Regions from separate parts of the Homo sapiens genome. Here regions 2 and 3 are each linked to region 1. The links are contacts of gene promoters, found by promoter capture Hi-C in human tissues and cell types (Jung and others, 2019). All regions are on one chromosome and are shown on one strand. The core of a region is centred on a gene start or on the middle of the fragment in contact, and the rest is flanking DNA. Distances in the headings are between cores, read along the strand shown.

Region 1 (3,216 bases), core at 192-2,691:
ACAAAGACACAGGGAGAATGCCATGTAAACACAAAAACAAGGATACAAAGACACCCACAAGCCGGGGATAAAGGCCTGGAACAGATCTTCTCCTCATGGCTCTCAGGAGGATCCAACCTTGCCGACTCCTTGATCTCAGACTTCCAGAGGCCAGACTGTGAGACAATACAATTTGACCTTCTGTTTTGTTAGCCACTCAGGGCTCAGTCCTTTGTTATGAAAACCCCAGAAAATTAATATGGGTCCAGACCAAAAGAAGTGAGCAAGTGACACACACAATTATGAACTAAATAAAGTGGTTACTGCTTTAAGCCCCTAATGCAGCAAAAGCTAATTAATAAAGTGGTTAAACTACTCGAGTCTCCCTAGTCTTCAGTTTTCACAATTACAAAATGGGATTTTACATATGTTCCTTACATGGTTATTAGTAAGATTAAGGAGGATAATGCTTGCAAGTTGCTTAGCAATGTAACTGACTCACAATTAGCATTCAAAGAGTGCTTATTTTCATGTTTTCCTTGGGGTGTCTGTTAAGTCAAAACCAGAGTTATTTACCCAAGAAAATATAAACTTCTACCTTTGAATTTATTGTAAATAATGTTGGAGTTTGTTATGGAATTCAACATCAATTTATATAAAACTAGAATGTCAAGTCTCCAGAAGAGGAAACAGGCACTCGGCAAGATCAGCTTAAATGGACCAAGATTAAGGCCGAAAGAAAATGTATTAAGCAACTGATATGTGCCCAAACATTACTGCATGCCTTTATTTACAATATTTTGTTTATTTATTGAAATACTTCTAAAATATAAATATTATCCTTCCATCACAATTGAGGAAATATCATTTCCTCAATGAAGGAAATATAATCCTCAATTATCCCTCATTTTTTAAAAAAGTTTCTAAAATACAAATATTATTATCACTCAAACTACTTGAGAAATAAACTTCAAAGTGCCCAAGATCCTATAGCTAATAATTAATACAGCAAGAATAAGAGGCAGGCATTTCTCCTTTAGTTCCCAGGTTCTTTCCTTAACACCTGGTCCATGTGTCTGGGATGGTCTCAGGAAGCCATTGCAAAATTAAGCCAAAAGATGATAGTTAATGTCCACTATTCATATAAAGTGAGACTCGCAAAACCCACCTTCCATGCTTGAGTGTTGCCCAGCAGTTCCTTTTATTGTGTTCTGGTAACTATGAAGTGCCACATAAGGACACCGTGTGTCTTTAAAAACACCCTTTGCATTGGAAGATTTCAGCCTCTGAAAGCTTCACGTATTGCACTCCAGCCTAAGAAGAGGAAGTCCTGCCAGCCCTCAGGTCAGACCTCTCAGGTCTGTGGCTGCATTTCACAGGAAACCAAGTCTAAAACGGACCTATCAGGAGGTTTTCTGCTGAAGGGCACTGCTTAGCATCGAGAAGAATTCAACCCACCGCCTTACTAATTTCCAGTGCCCCAAGGTCTCTGCACTGCCGCCCCTCCTCACAGGAGACGGACACCTCAGCCTAGATCCCTTGGTGCTCTCCACGCTGTTCAGGTAAACTCATTAGGCCAGTTCTTCTGAGTGAGGATCTCATGGTCATCTCCTTGTCATAAATGATCATCAGGAAAGACCTGAGCAGCAAGTAAAAATGTGTTTCTAAAGTGGAAGTCTGGGCCTTATATATAGCATCAAAGGAGCAAGAAGAAAGCCCTTAACTCAATTGTTAAAGATCCTTTCATTCTTTTGGGAGAAAGAATCAGGATACCTACCCACAGAAAATTAAAAGACTAAATGTTTTCAATCTTCTTTTCCTGGAGCTTGGACTCCCCGACTGTTTGCAACTGAAATCTAAAGACCAGGCCCCATGGCTGGCTTTCCTGGCTGACCTTCATTAAGTAAGCCCTCTAGAAAGAAAGCCTCCATTCAAAGTAGGTCATTCAAAGTATAAGTTAACTCCTGGAGCCCTGTGGAAATATATTTTTAACATTTTCTAAAGTAATACGATTTTCTTTCTGCTTTGGTGTAGAGGAGACTTAGACTTTGGAATCACGCAGACATCCTTCCACTCACAAGAGTAAGGAGCTCAAAAGTGAGGTTAAAGTTGGGGTTAAATTCTTACTCTTGAAAAGTGCCGGGAGTCATCTCTACCAGGCTTTTATTGGATAAAGCAAACAAACTGGAATGAGACAGAAAAGAAAATAACTATCATCAAAATATGGATACTTTGATTTTAAAAGGTGTCGATATGCCTGAACTTTTTATCAATACTGTTTTTATTACTTTACACCAGTGTTACTCATTTGGCTTCTCTGTTATGAGTATTACTTGTCTATTACCTACATGGCTATTTCTCTGGCTGTCTCTGTCTATACTGTGGCGCAGCTCCTCAATAGTGTTGTTCTTTGGATTTCCAGGGGCCTCCCAAACCACCAGGAATAATCATTTCAAATATCAAGAAGACGATGGTAGAGCTGGTTAATTGAAGGCCTACCAGAGAAATGACAGCGCTTCAGAAATCCTCTAAGAAGCTTAAGATACAGTATGCCCTAGAGAAGTAGGAATGGCAACTGGCATTTACTTACCTTCAGCTCCTGCTGACCTAGAGAGCTGGCTATTACTTTCCCTGGTTTACAGGTGAAGAACTTGAGTTCTCTAAGTAATATGTGCAAGGTTGTTCAGTCACTAATGTCAGTAACAGAATTCAGAAGGAAACTGATTTTCCTGGCTGACTGATTGGAATGGTGAACAGTGTTAGTTTGCAGTTTCACAGAGCTCATCCCTAAACTCACTCCTGGGTGGTCTCTGACACCAACCATCTAAATGGTAGTATTTCTTTGTTATTCCCAACAAGCCCTCTCAGATGACTGTATAGGCAAGACCATTTGAAAGCCAGTGCTTATAATCTTCTGTACCATCTGGCCAGCTCTGGCCTGAACACCAGGGGATTCTGTTTCTCGATCACTTTGCCATGAGTCAGGTGCTGTCTTAGAAAGACTGTAGGATTTGACGCCTGATCAAAATGGTGAGGATCCTGACTCTGCCACTTGGACCAGGGATGTTGTTTCATATATGATCCTCATTTCCTCCCCCTTTTTAATAAAGTAAGATCTCATAAGACTTGTATTGACAATTATTTAGCCTCAATAATATAATATTTATATTACGTGAAATATGGTGCATTCTTAACACTTAGCAAGTATTCAGTAAGTGTTGACTTCTTTCTCCATTA
Region 2 (3,216 bases), core at 388-2,887, 190 kb before region 1:
GTATACTGCAAAATAATAGCAACAAGCACTAATGTTGAATAAATGCTTGCTAGAAGCTAAGCTCAGAGGTTAACACTTTGTACTCACAATATCACTCCGAGGTAGGTCTTACTATTATCCTATTCTATGGATGAGGAAAGAGAGGCCGGGAAAGACTTAGTAGCTACCAGAGTCAGGATTTGGAAATAGGCATCTGGCCTTTGATACCTAGCTATTAGCCAAGAGTTGAAAAAGAGGGCATGTGAACAGAACATATAATAGTGGAAGAAATTGATTTATTTAAAGGTATATCTTTACGTATGTTTTAATCACTTCCTTTAGAAAGGTTTTTCTCATGTCTGAGAAGCTGCACCTTCTCTAAAATCATAGTCAGAACGGAGGAGACTCATTGGTCAGCATTTCTGGGCCTGAAAACCACTTTGCTTCCTTCATATGCCATTTGGAAAGCTTTAGATTTGTGTTGCAAAGGCCTTTGTTGGTGGAAAATGTTGAGATGACTGAACAATGATTTGTAGAAATATAGATACATATAGGTAGATAACTATAGGTATCTCAATATGGGAAAAGTTGGTCAAAAATATTTACTATAATTTTACCGTTCATAGATCTAGGTGCAACAGAATATTTAAAATAAATTTAAAACAAAAAGATGTAGGTACAGTGTGCAGAAGACTCTTGGTTAGGTCACTTTGAATTAGTTTTCTACAATATCTGTATCCTACAATACCGGAATGCATTTGCTTATCGAAGTGAACATTTCCAGAGGGTGAAGCTGAAGTTCAGACCCACAGGACTCAGGGCCTCAAAGTGTATCCTTTGCATCAACAGAAGCCCACAAAAATTCTCACACTCTGAAGTTTAGGCATGAAAGACATACATAAGATTGTTTGTCAATATTTTAAAATCGCATTTAAGACTTGGTTTGTTAATCACAGGTTTTGTTTCCTGGCTCTGAGCAAATGATAGAAAGTGAAACAGCATACCTCTCAATTGGGTGCAGTAGGAGATGCTGGAAGGTTTAGATGTAAAATTACATAACTTTCTGCATCTGGGTGGGGCTCTGGTAAGATCTCTGCCCTCTATGTCCTCCCAAGGAATCTTAATTTTACGAGGAGGGAGATAAAGAGAAAAAAAAATCTGCAAAGGAACTAAAGAAGTGAGAAAGATTTTTTTAAAATCTCTTTTCTTGCCTAAAAGGTGACAGACTAAACCAGAACAAGACATTTGCATAATAAAACACCAGCAGAAATGAACTAGGCTAACTAAGCAAAAGGTGTTGTGGAGCTTGCAGTCAGCAGAGGTACTCACACATTTTAATAAGTTCCAGGTTTGAGCCTATGTCTGGGTATATTGGAATCAGCATGAATGTGGAATTCAGAAAAAAACCTATTCTGCAACATAACCTTTGGCAATGGTCTTGATCCCTAACCCCCTAGCCCCACACCCATATAGTGGACTTAGTACTAGGATGAATGGCCAAAATGAGGCATTCTCCCTCTGTTCCTCCCATCTGTCTTTGGTAAAATGGGGACATTAATGCCCATTTCTGAGTTCCAAAAATTAACTGTAATAATAAATGCAGAGAGTCTGCTACACAGTAGGTTCTGGAGGTGAGCGTCCCTGCCCCTCACCAGCATTAAAAATTAAAAAGTCATTTTCATATTGGAACATTTGGAGTGGACTCCTCAAGGATTATGAATTCTATTAATATTTGTCTCTCAAATAAAAGAACAATTGGGGATAAAATTGCACCCAGCCAAATCCATTTTAAATGGATGAGAGTGGAGCAGAAAATAATGAAGAAGAATGTAGACAGATACAAAACGGGACTTAGACCATTTTGCTGCTAATAGGTGCCACAGACAGTTCATTACTGATAAATGTAGAATAATGATGTTCTTAATGAGTCTTTTCACGCACAAATTCATCATAAAACAAGAGGATGAGGTAAAACAAAAAGTCTTTGAATAGCACTCATGCAGCAGGGAAAGCAAGGATAATTTATGTCCCCCAAAAAGCTACCGATTTAATAAAGCCTTCTGAGATTGACTTCATTGTGTCCCAACTTAATAGCATTTCTTCTCATGTCTGAGAGGTAAATTTCAACCTGCCACACAATTTGGCGCACCTAAAAGAGATCAAAAGAGGTAGCTCTGCTGCTTGTGTTTAAAAGTTCCTATGGCCCCATATCAGTGATTGGACCTTGAGTCATTATCTATGCCCGAAGTTTGTCATTATAATATGAGAATAATAATTCCTATTCTGGGTGCCTCACACTTGATTGGTGTCATGGGCTGAACTGTGTCCCTCCCAAAATCCTTATATTGAAGTTCCAATCCCCTCAGTGCATCAGAATACCACTGCATTTGCAGATAGGCTCTTTAAAGAGATAATTAGATTAATTAAAAAGGTCATTAGGGTTGGTGCCAATTGAATATGACTGGCGTCTTTATAAGAAGAGGAGATTAAGGCACTGACACACACAGAGAGAAGGCCATGTGAGGACACAAAGGGAAGGCAGCCATATATCTACAAGCTGGGAAGAGAGGCCTCAGAAGGAACCAGTTTTGCTGACACCATGATTTTGGACTTCCCAGTCTCCAGAACTGTGAGACAATAAATGGTTGTTTAAGCCCTAGAAAACAAATATAGTTCAGTGCTTGGTGCTCAAAAATTGGATGAAGATTTTTGTTCACCCACTCCTTAAGTGTCACTTCATTAAGCCTGTGGCAGCTACAGGTGAGGATGTCAGACACAGATGCTGTGTTGAAGTGCTTTTTGAGTTAACAGTGCAAAACATGGTAAACATTTTAGAGGTTATAGCCATTACTTTCTCCTGCCTTCTATGTACATTTAATAGATGGTCTCTCTCTGTGTGCAATGTTCTAAATAAAGGATTCTATAAAACAATAGAACCAAATCAAGTTGACCTAATTTTAAATCAATACTACTAAATACCTGTGGTACACAGAATTCTAAGAAGGCCTTAAAAACTCCCACCCCCTAGTGTATGTGCCCAGTATAATCTCTTCCTCCTGAGAGAAGCTAGGTCTGTGGAATATGATATATATAAAGTAATGCTAACATGGGAGTGATTATTACAACACCTTCACCTGATAATGTAACCTAATCAAATCAAATAATTTAACATAAGACTTTGTCCCACCAAAGGGAGAGATTCTCCTGCTGGCTCTGAAAAGAAACCACATGTTGCAA
Region 3 (3,216 bases), core at 236-2,735, 130 kb before region 1:
TATTGGGAGAGTGATGCTAAGGAAGTCTTAAGCTTACTCTAAACCGAATGTTTTATAACAATAACGCATTCTTATATTACTTGTGTAATTTTAAAGTAGATTTTAAAACATATAATAGAGATAAAAAATCTATTGGTAAAACCATTATTTTAATGATTTATTAATCTTTCTTGAACTTGTTCAACAGTAATGTATTTCTCAGACAGGTATAGCAGGTAACACCTACAAAAACCTCACTGTATTTCAAGGGTTAATAAATAACACCCCTTTTTTCCTAATTGTGTTGAGAAGTAATTAAACGATGGATAGAGGAATCAGACCAATGGACATCTTCATGTAAACTTTATTGCTGGTTAAAGCTAAGTTAGAGGTCTTGGCTTAAATGCAAAATCATATGAGCTACAGCTCATTCTACAACCCCAGAAATACGCTAGTCTTGTCAGTTACTGGAAAGGTTTTAAAACTACAGGACCACTACAAGGGAACCCGCCCTTGTAAAATTTACTGCATAAGGAAGCAGGGAATATATAGGCCAGCAAATTTGCTTCAGATATGTGGTAGGCAGAGTTCTAAGATCACCCCTCAAATTCTTGGCCTCTGGTGAACAACATATCCATTTTCTCAGTTATTCAATCAAATACTAATCTAGGTGTTTCTCTGAAGGAATTTTGCAAATATAATTTAGGTCCAAAACCAGTTGACCTTATTATGAGGGAGATTATCCAGGTAGGCCTGGCCTAATCACATGAGCCCTTTAAAACTGGGCTAAAGGTCAGAGATGAAGAAGTCAGCGATTGGAAGCATGCTCTGGCTGCCTTAAAGCTGGAGGGGACCTAGTCTCAAGGAATGTGGGCTGCCTTTAAGTGCTGAGACTGCCACTGGTGGACATCCATTGAGCAACTGGAAAACCTTAGTACACAGTGACAAGGAACTGAATCCTGCCAATGCAAACAATGAGCTTGGATGCAGATGTTTTCCAGAGCCCCCAGACCGGACATCAGCCTAGCCAACACTTTGATGTCAGTCTTGGGATGCCGTGAACAGAGAACCCAATCACACCATGCCAGACTTCTGACCTACAGAGCTGTGAGCTAATAAATGGGTATTGTTTTCCTCCACTAGGTTTGTAATATTTTGTTACACAGCAATAAAAAGCTGATGTACAAAGGAAGAAGACTAGAAAGAGTTAAGCCCTGAATGCACCAAACAGAAAAGTGGAAGAAAGATGGAGAGAGTGGAGAGAGGCCTGCAGGTTACTTTAGTGGATGTTCTGCCACCTGGAAACACGGGAATGGGGAGTGAGCGTTCCCTGTTCGCGTAGGCTCGGCAACGTTCACCATTAGCTCCAGATGGGAACTTCCTGATGACCTAGCCCAGTGTTCTCAACAGAGGCCCCATTCACATTTTCAGCAGGACAAGCCTTTGTTATACTGGGCTGTCTTATGCATTACAAGAGGTTTACTTTTCCTGGGCCTCACCCATTAAATGTCAGATGTATTCCTCCAAACATCGGGGCAACCAGAAATACTCTCTAGCATTCCTATATGCCCTCAGACTGGCTGAGAATCATTCGGACCACACTGGCTGAGAACCAATGAAGCTCAACCCCGTATATTACAGATAAAGAAAGTGAGAGCAAGAGAGAGAAAGGGTCTTTGAGAAGGTCTCATAGCCTTTCCGTGTCAGTACTACAGGTAGGATTCCTAGTAGACTGTTTTTGCAAACATAAATTATACATGGAATATTTTAGTATAAGGTCTTTACCATTCTGGCCACCTGACATGATTCTGGACACCCATGTCTCCCTCCTATACATCACCAAGTGATTGCTCAAATGTCACCCTTTCAGAAAAGCGTTTGTGATCCTCCTATCTAAAATTGCAGTGCCCCCGCACACATACATTATCAGTATTCAGTACTTACCATCTTCCTTCCCTAATTTATTTTTTACATAATACTTATGACCTTTTAACAGACTTGTAAGATGTACTGATTTTTTTTTTAATTTTGGTCTGTCTAGACTACAACTATAAAATAAACTCCAAGAGTGAAGGATTTCAGTCCACTTTGTTCCTTCTGTGTCCCCGGTACCTGTATCATTGCCTGACACCTGGGCGGCACTCAGTATTAATGGAATAAATAAATGAGTGGAGCCATTATGCCAAGTATTTCATACAAGTAATTATTTTCTTTCCTTCTGTTTGGAAAGAAAAATAAATGTTAGAATTAATAAAATCACTTTGTATTTACTAACAACTATTTCACAGGAACAACTATGAAAAATATGGTGAAGAAGTTTATGAAAACAAAGTATATTCAGTAAAAGGTTTTTGTATTAGATTTGATAAAATAGGGTATCCAGCAAAGAAAATTGTTTTATTTTCTCAGTCAAAAATAATATTTTACTTTTTAAATAAAATTGGGTCATGCATAGTGTATTTATTTTTTATAAATTAAGTGTTGGTCAGCTCTGACACTAATAATATGAATTCAAAATCTTTTAAATTTTGCAGGAGATTGTTAATCTAAATTTTTCTTCTACTGCACCCTCCCTAGACTAACAAGGTCAACAGTTGGGTTTTTGTTGTTGTTGTTGTTGTTTTGTTTTTTTGTTTTTAGGGAATGCCGAATTTTTTAAAATTTAACTCATGGTGTAATAGATGTATTCTATTTTTAAAAATACTGAGTACCTTGCTAGATGTCAATATAATTTTACTTTTGGAAATACATAGATAACTTTGACTTGATCCTTGACCTTGAACAGCCTATTTATTAATGGTAGGTAGCTGGAATAGGTATGCATACAAAATATTGTTAACAATTTAGGGTGTATACAATTTGTCATAACAATAGAATGAATTCTTACTTTATTTATTTTTATTTTATTTATTTATTTATTTTTTGAGACAGAGTCTCGCTCTGTCTCCCAGGCTGGAGTGCAATGGTGCAATCTCAGCTTACTGTAACCTCTGCCTCCTGGGTTCAAGTGATTCTCTCACCTCAGTCTCCCGAGTAGCCAGGATCACAGGCACACACCACCACGCCCAGCTGATTTTTGTGTTTTTAGTAGAGATGTGTTTTCACCATGTTGGCCAGGCTGGTCTCGAACTCCTGACCTCAAGTGTTCCACCCACCTCCCCTTCCCAAAGTGCTGGGGTTACAGTCATGAGCCAGCATGCCTGGCCCAAATGCTTACTTTAAAATCTTAATTATAAG

The links. The method cuts DNA at HindIII sites, captures the fragments that hold promoters and counts their contacts. A contact is called where the count stands out against the background at its distance.
Region 2: a fragment that was not itself captured here is called in contact with the fragment with the promoter of CLNK in region 1 in 1 of the 25 tissues and cell types used here (mesendoderm cells).
Region 3: a fragment that was not itself captured here is called in contact with the fragment with the promoter of CLNK in region 1 in 1 of the 25 tissues and cell types used here (lymphoblastoid cells).

Annotation. Positions count from the first base shown.
Region 1 is chr4:10,682,993-10,686,208 of GRCh38, reverse strand. It overlaps CLNK (cytokine dependent hematopoietic cell linker), which reads left to right and starts at 1,441. Exons shown (of 19, transcript NM_052964.4): 1 at 1,441-1,541. The HindIII fragment of the contact is 5,072 bases long and covers 290-3,216 here.
Region 2 is chr4:10,873,374-10,876,589 of GRCh38, reverse strand. No RefSeq gene overlaps it. Among named protein-coding and RNA genes, the nearest start is that of LINC02498, 140 kb to the right of the region's middle. The HindIII fragment of the contact is 3,938 bases long and covers 1-3,216 here.
Region 3 is chr4:10,814,954-10,818,169 of GRCh38, reverse strand. No RefSeq gene overlaps it. Among named protein-coding and RNA genes, the nearest start is that of LINC02498, 79 kb to the right of the region's middle. The HindIII fragment of the contact is 3,086 bases long and covers 1-3,028 here.